Regions from separate parts of the Homo sapiens genome. Here region 1 is linked to region 2. The links are contacts of gene promoters, found by promoter capture Hi-C in human tissues and cell types (Jung and others, 2019). All regions are on one chromosome and are shown on one strand. Each heading gives the region's core, a stretch centred on a gene start or on the middle of the fragment in contact. The rest is flanking DNA. Distances are from core to core; before and after follow the strand shown. Region 1 overlaps MAEL (maelstrom spermatogenic transposon silencer). Region 2 holds the start of ILDR2 (immunoglobulin like domain containing receptor 2).

Region 1 (5,947 bases), core at 780-3,279, 35 kb before region 2:
ACAGATTCTAACAGTTTCTATTGTATACTACAATCCAAACTCCCTTGTAAAATATCATACATTTGAATCTTATTATGTTATGAAGCTCAATAAAAAGTAGATCCATCCTGTCCAAAGAAGTTTAGTAAAGTGCCTACAGTACTATGTAAGAGTTTTACCTTTAACAAAATCCCACGGCATGGACCTCAAATAATGTCTCAAACTAGAGCTACTCTAGTCTTGTTGTAGAGTATAGCTACTCTGCTGAACTCAACACTGTATTTCTTCAATTATAAAACACATTTTCTTGACATTTTAACCAAAATTAGAATGCATCTTACAATTGAAGGTATTGCACAATGTCTATTTGACAGTCTAGAAATAGTTGCCATTGCCTAACCATGTACAAATTTAATTATTAATCTTGATGGTAACCAGACATTTGCAATCCTTCAACATTTTAGTCAATAAACCATTTAAAGATTATTTGAGGACATATTAGTTTGTCCCTGAAAACTTTCTTTTGACCTCTTCTGAAAAGATCAAGAAAGAACTGGCATCAAAACTTGCAGAAAGGATATGCTTAGAAGAAAACCCCAGAGACAACAGTGGAGTTCTTTTTTAAGAAATGCTGTATCGCCAACACTCTTAATGGCACAGAGGACAATAATGTATAAAAACATGGACAATGAATGACTCAATGTGAAATTTTAGAAATACTTCAGCCTGTAACTGAGGTAATGGTACATAAATCCAAATATCTTAACACATCATCCATAAGCTTTACAGATTAACAAGAACAACAACAACAAACGTGGGGAAAACAAAATCTACACCTACAGCATAACTAGAAGAACACTACAAAACTCAGTTGTCTATAAATAGAAAAATGAAAACTGTAATTTCCAATGGAGCAATTTCTCAATCTCCTACCCCAACCTTTATATGCAGTAGAGTCCAGAAAAAACTTGGGGAAGGAAGAAAGAAAATGGAGAGCCTAAGATTAAATTAAAATCATTCTTACAATGAGGAAGCCCATTCTTTACGTAAATATTCAAACAGTCCTAGTAGATCAGAGCACTGACTATAGGCAAGTGCCATGCTAAGTGAAAGAGGAAGGGGGAAGGGCCCTTTAGAAATTAGGTAGAAAAAAAAAAGCAAAGGGGGAAATTTAAGATCATGCAGGAAATAAAATTCTAAGAACCTACAACCACACTCCCACCACCCTGAAAACATTCATTAAAGAACCTGTACTTTGTCACATTGACAGAGAGGAAGGTTCTTGGAAAAAAGACTCTCAATCAAACCTCCCGCTAAATTATCAGCCTTGTCCAAGAAACGCAAAGGAGCAATGTATCTTCATCTACAGAAAGCTATTATGGGAAGAAAACAAGCTATTATAAGAACAAAATAGCCAGGCATAATGGCTTGCACCTGTAATCCCAGCAATTTGGAAGGCTGAGGCAGGAAGATCACTTGAGGCCAGAAGTTCGACACCAGCCTGGGCAACACAGCAAGACTCTGTCTCCACGACAAATGAAAAATAACTAGGTACGCATGGTGGCACATGCCTGTAGTACCAGCTACTCAGGAGACTGAGGCATGAGGACTGCTTGACTCTAGGAGTTCCAGGCTGCAGTGAGCTATGATTGTGTCACTGTATTCCGGCTGGGGTGACAGAGCAAGACTCTCTTTAAAAAAAAGAAAAGAAAAGAAAAGAAAACAGAAAAGGAGAATCAAAACACTTTAGCTGATAATTTCTCATACCCCCACCCCCCAAAAAAACATGAAGGAGGGGAAAAACCTAACATTACTGTATTAGTCTGTTCTCACACTGCTGTGAAGTAATATTTGAGACTGGGTAATTTATAAAGGAAAGAGGTTTAACTGACTCACAGATTTGCATTGGTGGGGAGGCCTCAGGAAATTTATAATCATGGGAAAGGCAAAGGAGAAGCAGCCACCTTCTTCACAAGGCAGCAGAATGGAATGAGTGCAAACAGGGGAAATGCCAGATGCTTATTAAATCCATCAGATCTCATGAGAACAGCATGGGGGAACCGCCATGATCCAGTTACCTCCACCTGGTCCAACCCTTGACACATGGGGGTCATAGGGATTACAATTCGAGGTGAGATTTGGGTGGGGACATAGAGCCAAAGTATATCAATTACCATTCCATGTTAAATTAAATATCCTCAAAAAGAATGTGAGAATATAAAAACACACCCTGAATGAGAAACTTCAAAACTAGAAACAGAAATAAACAAAAAATGAAGAAATTACTTAACTCAAGAAAGAGAGGGGAAAAAAAAGACAAAAACATTACAGAAAAGAACTAAATTACCAACTGCCCAAGGCTGAACAGATTCATTTGTAAAGTTAATAAGAGAAACTGAAGAAAGCAGAAACTATCATGAGAATAAACAAAGTAAAAAGGGTCAGAAAAAGTGATTAAAATGAAAGGCAAAGAAGATCAAACATACATATATATTGGACTCCTTTTAAGAAGAAACATTAGACAGTGGAACAAAACTAACATTAAACTATGATCTAAAAAAAAAAAAAATCTCCAGAAATAGAACCTGATTCTGCATATTGAAAGGGCTCACCAAATGTCTTAGAAAATGGACCTGCATATAAACTCAGAGAAATAGCCTAGTAACAGTATTAGACTTTAAAAATGAAAAAAGACTAAAGTCTCCAGGCAAAATGATCAACTAACTCCAGTCAAAAAGATCAGATAACTAAGGCCAAGAAAATTAACTGACCAAATTTCACAAAAGGAACACACAAAGCCATGAAATGAAGTTGCATTTTCTAGAAACTCAAGGAAATATGGTGTACACCATTAGAAAAAGTTTTAAACATGCAAGAACACAGGGAATACTCTTCCATGAGCCCCTGATCAATTTACTGTATCAAGGTTCAGCAAACTTTAACTTTTAAGGCATCAAATATCACAGCAGCCAGCTTACAACTACAGGAAATGCAATGAAACACAGACAGAAACACAGTAATAATAGGAGATTACTGTCAACACAAGACATATCAACTGGATAAAATATACCTAAAGAAAATGTAAACAATACAATTAATGTAGATGATGTATGTGTGTGGATCTCAAATGCTATATCCTGAAAAGAAAGTATATTCTCATATGCCAAGAGAACAGTCACAAAAATTGATTATATATTAAGTCAGCAAAAAAACCCCAAAGACCAGTAACTTCCATAAAGTAAAAATATTATAAACACTTTCTGATCACAATGTAAAAACACTGGAATTTACTAAAAGAAACAAAATGCAGAAAGTCCTTTTCACCTGGACATTTAAAAGCCTTGTTTTAAAGAGATGGTGGCTGAGAGTTAAAATGACATAATTTATTTAAAATGGCAATGAAAATATTGCATGCAATAATCTACGTAAATTCATTGAAAACAATGATTAAGAGAAAATTCACTCTACTAAACACATCAAAAAAATCAGGCAAAAGATAAATTACATTTCCAGCCCCCAAAACTAGAAAAAGAACAACAACATACAAAGAGAGTAACAGCAAAAATTAATTAGGAAGAGAATAGAAAAACAGGTCTAATAAATTAAAATCCTATTGTTTTGAAAAATTAAAAAAGACAACACATTTGCTTACAAAAAAATGAGAGAGCACAAATATACAATGACAAGATAACCATTGAAACAGATGAAATTTAAAAAAATTTTAAGAGACCACACTTCCTTGCAGATCTTTAAACAAATAACTTTGAAAAGCTATATAACATGTATCATTTTCTAGAAACATACAGATTACCAAAATTTACCCCATTAAAATTAGAAAGCCTAATAAAACCAATTTCCATAGAAGAACAGAAAAAGTTATCAAGGAACTGCTCCTACAAAAATGCGCCAGTCCCAGAGATGCACAATCTGTGTGAGAAAAATTTTAAAACATATTTGAAAGACACAAAAGTAGATTTGAACAATGGAAAGATGTCCCTAGTCTTTGGAAACAACTCAACAATATAAATATTTCAGTTATCCCCAAGTTAATTTATAAATTTAATGCAATCCTAACAAGCTTTTTTTAATGAAGCTAGAATAAAGTGACACTTCTGAATATTATTTTTGTTTACAAAACGGAAATGCTTTAGACATTCAAAAGCTAAATTAGCAAAAATGGAATACAAACAAGCAAACGAACTTAACTATTAATATATTTCAAAAGAGTAATTTGTACTGAAAGGGGAAAAAAGAACCTAAATAACTTCTGAACAAAGTATTTTGACTATATACTTTCAGACTAAAAGCGATTATAAACAAACTCTAAACAGTTGTATGTCTTTTTTTAAAAATAGTGGTACCATATAATTCTAAAAAATACTGACAGCCAGGGTTCTCATTCTCAGAGAAAGGAAATTTTTTAAAAAGTAAAAAAACTAGAGAACTCTATGGTATTGGATTGAAATTACAGGTTAAGTGTGAACTCATGATAAGATAGAGATGGATAAAAAGATTGAGAGACCTAGCTACAAACAGATGTATATGGAGTGTGTGTGTACATACACACACACACACACACACACACACACACACACACACACAAACATATATTTCCTAGCTCTCTACTAAGGGGATCTAGAATCAATGATACTCTAGTAAGAAATGAGCACACCTACCACCCAGATTCTATCTCCTAACTGTTATGCTCCACTAAAAGAAACCAGAGATTCTTGGGAGAAATGGCTAATCCAGGGCTGGAACAAAGAAAGTACAAGATAGGCCTGGAACATATTGTGCCAAATAGAAAGCAAAGAAGCACTGTTAGATAGAAAGCAATGAAGCAATGTCAAAAGGACACACAAACCCCTGCTTGAAGGTACTCCCACTGGCCATATATGGAACAATTTGATCATAAAAATAAATTACAATAATAGATTAAAATGTACTGAATAGGAATCCATGAGTCCATGCTCATATAAATGAAAAAAATAAATAAATGGGTAAAAAGGAGAAACTTTTTTTTTTTTTACAGTGGAATGCCAACCAATAAATGCAGAAGGAACAATCAAATTAGAAAAATCACCTTTCACAATGATAGTAATAATTGACTCAGGCAAAAATCAGCACTTGATACTAAAATTTGTATATGAAAGTTTGAGGAAGAGAATACCTACCCAATTTGAAAGTATTTCCCCACAAAATATTTATTAATTATATGGTAAAAAGCTGGGAGCAGTGGCTCACGCATGTAATCCCAGCACTTTGGGAGGCTGAGGCGGGTGGATCACGTGAGGTGAGGAGTTCAAGATCAGCCTGGCCAACATGGTGAAACCACATCTCTACTAAAAATACAAAAATTAGCTGGGCATGGTGGCGGGTGCCTGTAATCCCAACTACTCGAGAGGCTGAGGCACGAGAATCACTTGAACCTGGGAGGTGGAGGGTGCAGTGAGCTGAGATTACACTACTGCACTCCAGCCTAGGTGATACAGCAAGACTCTGTCTCAAAAAAAAAAAAAATGTATATATATATATATATATATATATATATATATATAGTAAAAAACCAGTAACTTTCCAATAGAGAAATATTGATAGGTACTATATTAAACAAGTGATCAAAGTTATCATCATCAGTAATTGGACAAACTGACATCATATACCTCCAGATATGACACACTGAGCAGTCAGTCACATAATCCCTTCTGTGGTATTCCTGCCAAAAATGCATAATCTCAATTTAACCATGAGGAAATACAGATCAACTAAAAGTGAGAAACATTCTATAAAGTAACTGGCCTGTACTCAAAAATGTCCAGATCATGAAAGTGAAAATAAGACTGAAGAACTGTTCCAGATTAAAGAGATATAATAACTAAGTGCAACATGTGGTCTTGGACTGGACTCTAGAATTTTTTTGGCTGTAAAAGACACAGTGGAATAACTAATACAATATGAATATGGTCTT
Region 2 (5,386 bases), core at 1,420-3,919:
ACTACATGGAAAACACATTTCTGGGATGATGGACAAGGCAACTGCATTCTATGATTCATTGTGGCACAAGCTCTTCTCCAAGTCTCCTGATTCAACTACACAGACACCTCCTCTGAGCAGACATGAGTTCATTTCTGTGGGCATTCACGTTCCACTTCATATACACATCCAGGCTTCCTTCACTCAGTCCATCTCCCATTTTTCACATGTATAAACTTGCTCATATGTCCAAGTTTTGCATAAAATGCCATTTTTTTTGAGACAGGGTCTCACTCTGTCACCCAGGCTGGAGTCCAGTAGCGTGGTCACAGCTCACTGCAGCCTCAACCTCCCAGGTTCAAGTGGTCCTCCCATCTTAGCCTCCAGAGTAGCTGGGACTACAGGTATGTACAACCACGCCTGGCAATTTTTGTATTTTTTGTAGAGATGGGGTTTCACCATGTTACTCAGGCTGGTCAAATTCCTGAGCTCAAGCAATCCGCCCACCTCAGCTTCCCGAAGTGCTGAGATTACAGGTGTGAGCCACTGCACCTGGCCAAAATGCCACTGTTATGTGTGCTTAGATAATAAACACTATTCAAGCTCTTTTGTGCACTGTGACACACACACATAGATGCAGTAAATGGCACAGCATAATACAAATATATCATCTCAATCTTCTGGTGTAGATGTTCTTTTTGTGGTGCAAACAGTATATGCTTTAGAGTCAGATTCAAATCCTAGCTCTGCCACTTACTAGTTGCCTGATCTTAGAGAAGTTAGTTAAATGCTCTGGGCCTAAGTTCCCTCTTTAGGGTTAAATGAGAAGGTTTGTTAAACATGTAGAACTCTGCCTAGAACCTAAAGGAAACCCACAAGTGTTAGGTACCTCCTATATTTTTATTTTTCTGTATATGAAAGGAAATAGTCCTCAAATTTCTCTCATGCAGTACATAGCATGAAAAAATCATCCTGGCCAAAATAAGCAAAGAAAGAGTTTATGAAAGGATATTGGGTGGCTCAAAGAATTGCTGGGGAAGTGAAGAGCCAAGTGTAGAAGAGAGGCTAGAACCCAGAGAGCCTGCAAGACCACAGCCAAAAATCACACCTTGGAGCATCCTGGTGGCTTGACCTCTGCCACAGCTGATCATGTACACTGGATGCTGCTGCTGCCTCAGTGACAAAATCAATTCTCCACTGTCCTTGTTTCTTATATCCACCACTTGCTCCAGAATCAAAAAGCTCTGAGGGAGAGGTCAGCCTGGCTATGCCAGGGGCCCGGGCCTGCATTCCAGCTGGGATGGTCAGGGAGGTGGCTCTAGACTTTCTGGCTTCTGCAGTTGGAATTTCTCAGAATAAGAAGGGAATTGAGATGTCAGGCAGCCATAAAAGACAGCTGCCCAGGGTCTATTCTTCCCATTTCTCACATGTTCACATACATATTCTCCCTGTCTGTGTACACATTCACTCTTAGGTGTGGAGTCTGTCTGCTCCAGGAACTCCCCTCCAGCCTGGCACCACTCTGTTTTCAGATGCTACTTGAGACCTTTCTGCTATGTCTCTTTCCTCTGCCCAGAATGCCCTCGCCTGCCCCCTTTCCACCAGGGATCCTTGAATGGCTCAAATCTTGTGCTTTCTGCAAATGCCAGCTCAGATGTTACCCCTCCTTTATCGTGGTGCCCCCTCCCCACCCACGACTAACTTAGTCCTTCCTCTATGTTCCCAAGGCACTTTCTCTATGTCTCCATTATTGCACTTGCCCCGTTTTACTAGGAATAAGTATCATGTCTTTAATGGTCTGACCTTCCTCCCTTTCCTCGACCCAAGATGAGGCTCCTAAGGGCAGGAAGTCTATCTCATTCCACTTTGTAACCTTAGTTCTTAGCACCTAGTAGAGGCTTCATAAATATATTTCTTAAGCAAATCATACATTTCTCAGTTCTCTCTCAACACATACATTTTGAGACACAAGACAAATCCGTCTGACAAATAGGAATAATCCATGTGAATGCGTGCTGGAATCTATAAAGTGTTGGATGGATTTAAGCCGTTATAATCATTTATCTCATTCTGGTTTTACATATTTTCTGTTAAAGGGCCGGATGCCCTTATTCTACCTCATATTTTAACAGGAAAAAGTAATGACGCGAGATTCCCGCCTACCTTTTTCAATTCTGCGGAGCCTCTTGCCTGGTTCCTTGCACTGTCAAAAAGGAAACCAGACGGAGGGGCGGGGGTACCGCAGAAGCGAACATTCTAGCCTAGAGGACTTGCTAGTTAAGTCCTGTAAGAAGTTACGCCAAGTCCCCGCCGTCCCCCACCCTCGCCGCTGTCACTCTCTCCCCGTTCAGGTTGGCTGTGGCTGCCCGCAGACACAGGCTCCCCTGCTCGAGTCCCCAGCCAGCGTTCTCGCCCGGGTTCCCGAGCGCGGGCGTCCCTGGGAGAAGCCGCGATGGTCGCTCCCCGCTCGGCGCGGCCCGCGGGGCGGCCTCCCCCGCGCCTCTCGCTGCCTGCCACCCAGAGACCCCCTCTCTCCGCGTGGCCTCAATCACTCCACGCTGACCTTTGGGCCGCCGGGGGCCAGCACGTGACCGAGAAACTTTGGCAGTCGCGGCAGCGGGCGGCGGGGCGGAGGCGCGGGAGGCGGTGCGGCGGCCGAGCTCCCCCGCGCGGCGGGCTCTGCGGCGGGGAGACGCTCGCCCCGTGCCGCGCTGCCTGGGCATGCGGATGCGCCGCCGAGCGCTGCGCGGACCCCGGAAGCCCGCGGCAGCGCGCGCTCAGCCGGCGGCGCGATCCAGCCCCCGGCCCCGCCTGCGCGGCCGGCCCGGCGGGCGCTGCGCCCAGGGACGCCCGGTGCCCGCCGCTCCGCCGCCGCCCGCTGCCGCGGGGTGACAGCGATCCTTCTGTTCCAGCCATTTCCCACTTTCCTCACTCCGTAATTCGGCTGGGAAGTTGGGGAAGATGGATAGGGTCTTGCTGAGGTGGATTTCTCTCTTCTGGCTAACAGGTAAGAGTCCTTTTCAACAGAAACGAATAACTTTGTATATTCCTGTAGTGGTTCTGTTCTCACCGCGCCCCCCGCCCCCCCATTTTCCTCCTTACTGACCATGTTTAAAGCTGCTTAGCGGTCTGGTGGAAAGTGGGGGAGGGGGCAACGTGTGTGTTTGTGTATGTGTTTGTGTGTGTGTGTGTGAGAGAGAGAGAGAGAGAATGATGGGGGCGGCGGGGGAGAAGCCCAATGACAAGTGAGACGCATCTAGATGCAGGTGTTTGACTCATTGGCGCTGAGGTTGTTCTTTCGAATGCATTTCCCCTCCATAAAACGGTTCTCCTTCGGTCTTATCCTGAGTTTGTAATGCTGTGAGTCTTGTGAAAAGCCTGGCTGGAATAAAGGAAGCTCAGAGGGAGCTGATTAATTAAATGAACTGGTTTTCTGGAGGTGGAGGCTAGAGGACTGTCTCCTTAATTTCTTCCCTAGAGAAGGAGGGGGACCCAGGGCATTCTCTCTGTGGCTCTCTGGAGGGTGCAAGGAACTGGAGGTTGGGAAGAAGATGGGGATGGAACCTTCACTGGTTGTGGAGTTTAGAGCCTGGCTCTCTCTTACTTGGTATCATTTGGGGAGTGGTCCCAAATGATAATTAGAAAGCAGAAGAGCCTTTCTAATAGGTGCACTCTCCGCTCCCTAAAAGATAATTTGCAGAGAGATTTAGAGGCATTGGGCTTCTCCCCAGCATCAAAGTCACTGGTCTAGCTGGGTCCTCTGTGCCCTCCCCTCCTTTTTGGTGAACTTTCTCCCCATTCTGCTGGGGTCAGTAGATGCTCTTGTTCTTAACCTATTTCCCCACATGAGGATTCCGATTCCCATAGGGATACAGGGCCTTGGGGTGGCCAGCCCTGAGAGATTCACAAAGCAGCCCTGCTGAAGGGAGTAGGATGGGGGTGAGGAATGTCTGGATAGCTTGGACTGGGTCAGAGGCAACCATTCAAATCAAGGTGGAGGCAGAATGATGGAAGAAATGGAAAAAGGGATCAGAAAGGTGAGGACAGGATGGGGGTGGAAGGCAGGAGAGAAAAGGGACAATAGTACCACATGAGAAGTTTTGTCACCTCTAGCATCACCAGCCAGAAGATCTGGACAAAATCAAGGCACTAGGCAAAGGGGAACAAGCTTAAAATAGCTAAAACAAGTCATGTAAAGGGGGTAAAATACATTTAGCAAGAAAAGGCAAATACCCCATTTCCCTTAGCTTCAGAATAAGATTCTTCATTGCCTAAATATTTTTCCCATTTCAAATGAAATGCCCCTAACATTGCCGTTGCCCCACTGCTGGGTTTAGGCTGGGGGAGGCATCCTCAGCAGAGTTAGCCTCTTCTTTTGGCTGCTTTGAGTTCATCCCTCCCACATTATTCAGATATGAATCATCTCTAATTTCAGGGTTTGGCTGATCCATGCCACCCCGCTCCCCTGGCCTCCCAGTGCCTTCCACTCCCACCCTCACTGATTCTTCACATCCTTAATCTGCCTCTACTCTCGGTTATCAATATTCTCAGGGCACTTAGTCCTTGAGCCTGTATCACAACAGCACTGAAGTCAGCCAGGCATCGGGGGGGGGGGGGAGGGGTCCCTGAGTCAGAGGTGCTCTTTACAGACACGCTGGGGTCTGCCTAAAAGAAGTACTCTGGGGGTTTGCAGGGAGTGAGAGAAGAAGGGAAACATAGAGCTCTCTTTAGATGGCTCACAGCTTTTTATGAAATGGAATCATATCACTGGAGGGTACTACAGGAACTGTAGTTCAGCCCTCTCAGTTTATAGAGATGGAGTCCTAGAGAGGCAATATGCACATAGCACGTTCATGATTGATTAGGGACTAGATTCCAGTTCTCTCAAACTCCAGACCAGTCTCATTTGCCCTCTCCTAAGCTGCCTCTCTGGGCTTTTTGCTGGAGGGCTTTTTGTTTTATTTTTGTTTTGAGGGAGGTGATGGCTTTGTCTGTGCCTTCTGCCACCTGCACCTGGAGAGGCTGTTCTGCTTGGAATCAGGCAACAGGTTAGTTATCAGGACCAGCTCAGCTGTCAGATGGCTGGGGATTCTTTGCTCCAAAAGTGAGACTGACTCCTGGGATCCCATTGATCATCCTCTGCTCCCTGCTCCTGCTTTCTCCTCATCCCATCACTGCTGTCAGAGGTGTGGACAGACAAGCTGCCTCTCAGCCTCAGCAAAGTAGAGGAGCAAACAATGGCGGCTGGGGAGGGGAGGGAGGAGACAGAAGCAGACAAGGAGGAGATGAATTCAGACTCATTCTTCACAGAGAACCATGAGACGAAAGGTGAGAAATTTTAGTCCAGCCCAATCAATGAATTCTCTTTTGAGGGGGTGGTAGAAAGGAAGGGAGACAGGGAAGAACA

The links. Contacts are between HindIII fragments. The study calls those that stand out against the background at their distance.
Region 1: a fragment that was not itself captured here is called in contact with the fragment with the promoter of ILDR2 in region 2 in 2 of the 25 tissues and cell types used here (neural progenitor cells and thymus).

What each region holds. Positions count from the first base shown.
Region 1 is chr1:167,006,192-167,012,138 of GRCh38, reverse strand. All of the region lies in intron 8 of MAEL (maelstrom spermatogenic transposon silencer), which reads right to left. Among named protein-coding and RNA genes, the nearest start is that of MAEL, 20 kb to the right of the region's middle. The HindIII fragment of the contact is 6,636 bases long and covers 1-5,347 here.
Region 2 is chr1:166,972,823-166,978,208 of GRCh38, reverse strand. It overlaps ILDR2 (immunoglobulin like domain containing receptor 2), which reads left to right and starts at 2,669. Exons shown (of 10, transcript NM_199351.3): 1 at 2,669-2,986. The coding sequence starts at 2,941. It also overlaps a transcript of LOC124904449 not described here and a transcript of MAEL not described here. RefSeq lists silencers at 2,250-2,299, 2,420-2,709, 2,770-2,819. The HindIII fragment of the contact is 11,019 bases long and covers 1-5,386 here.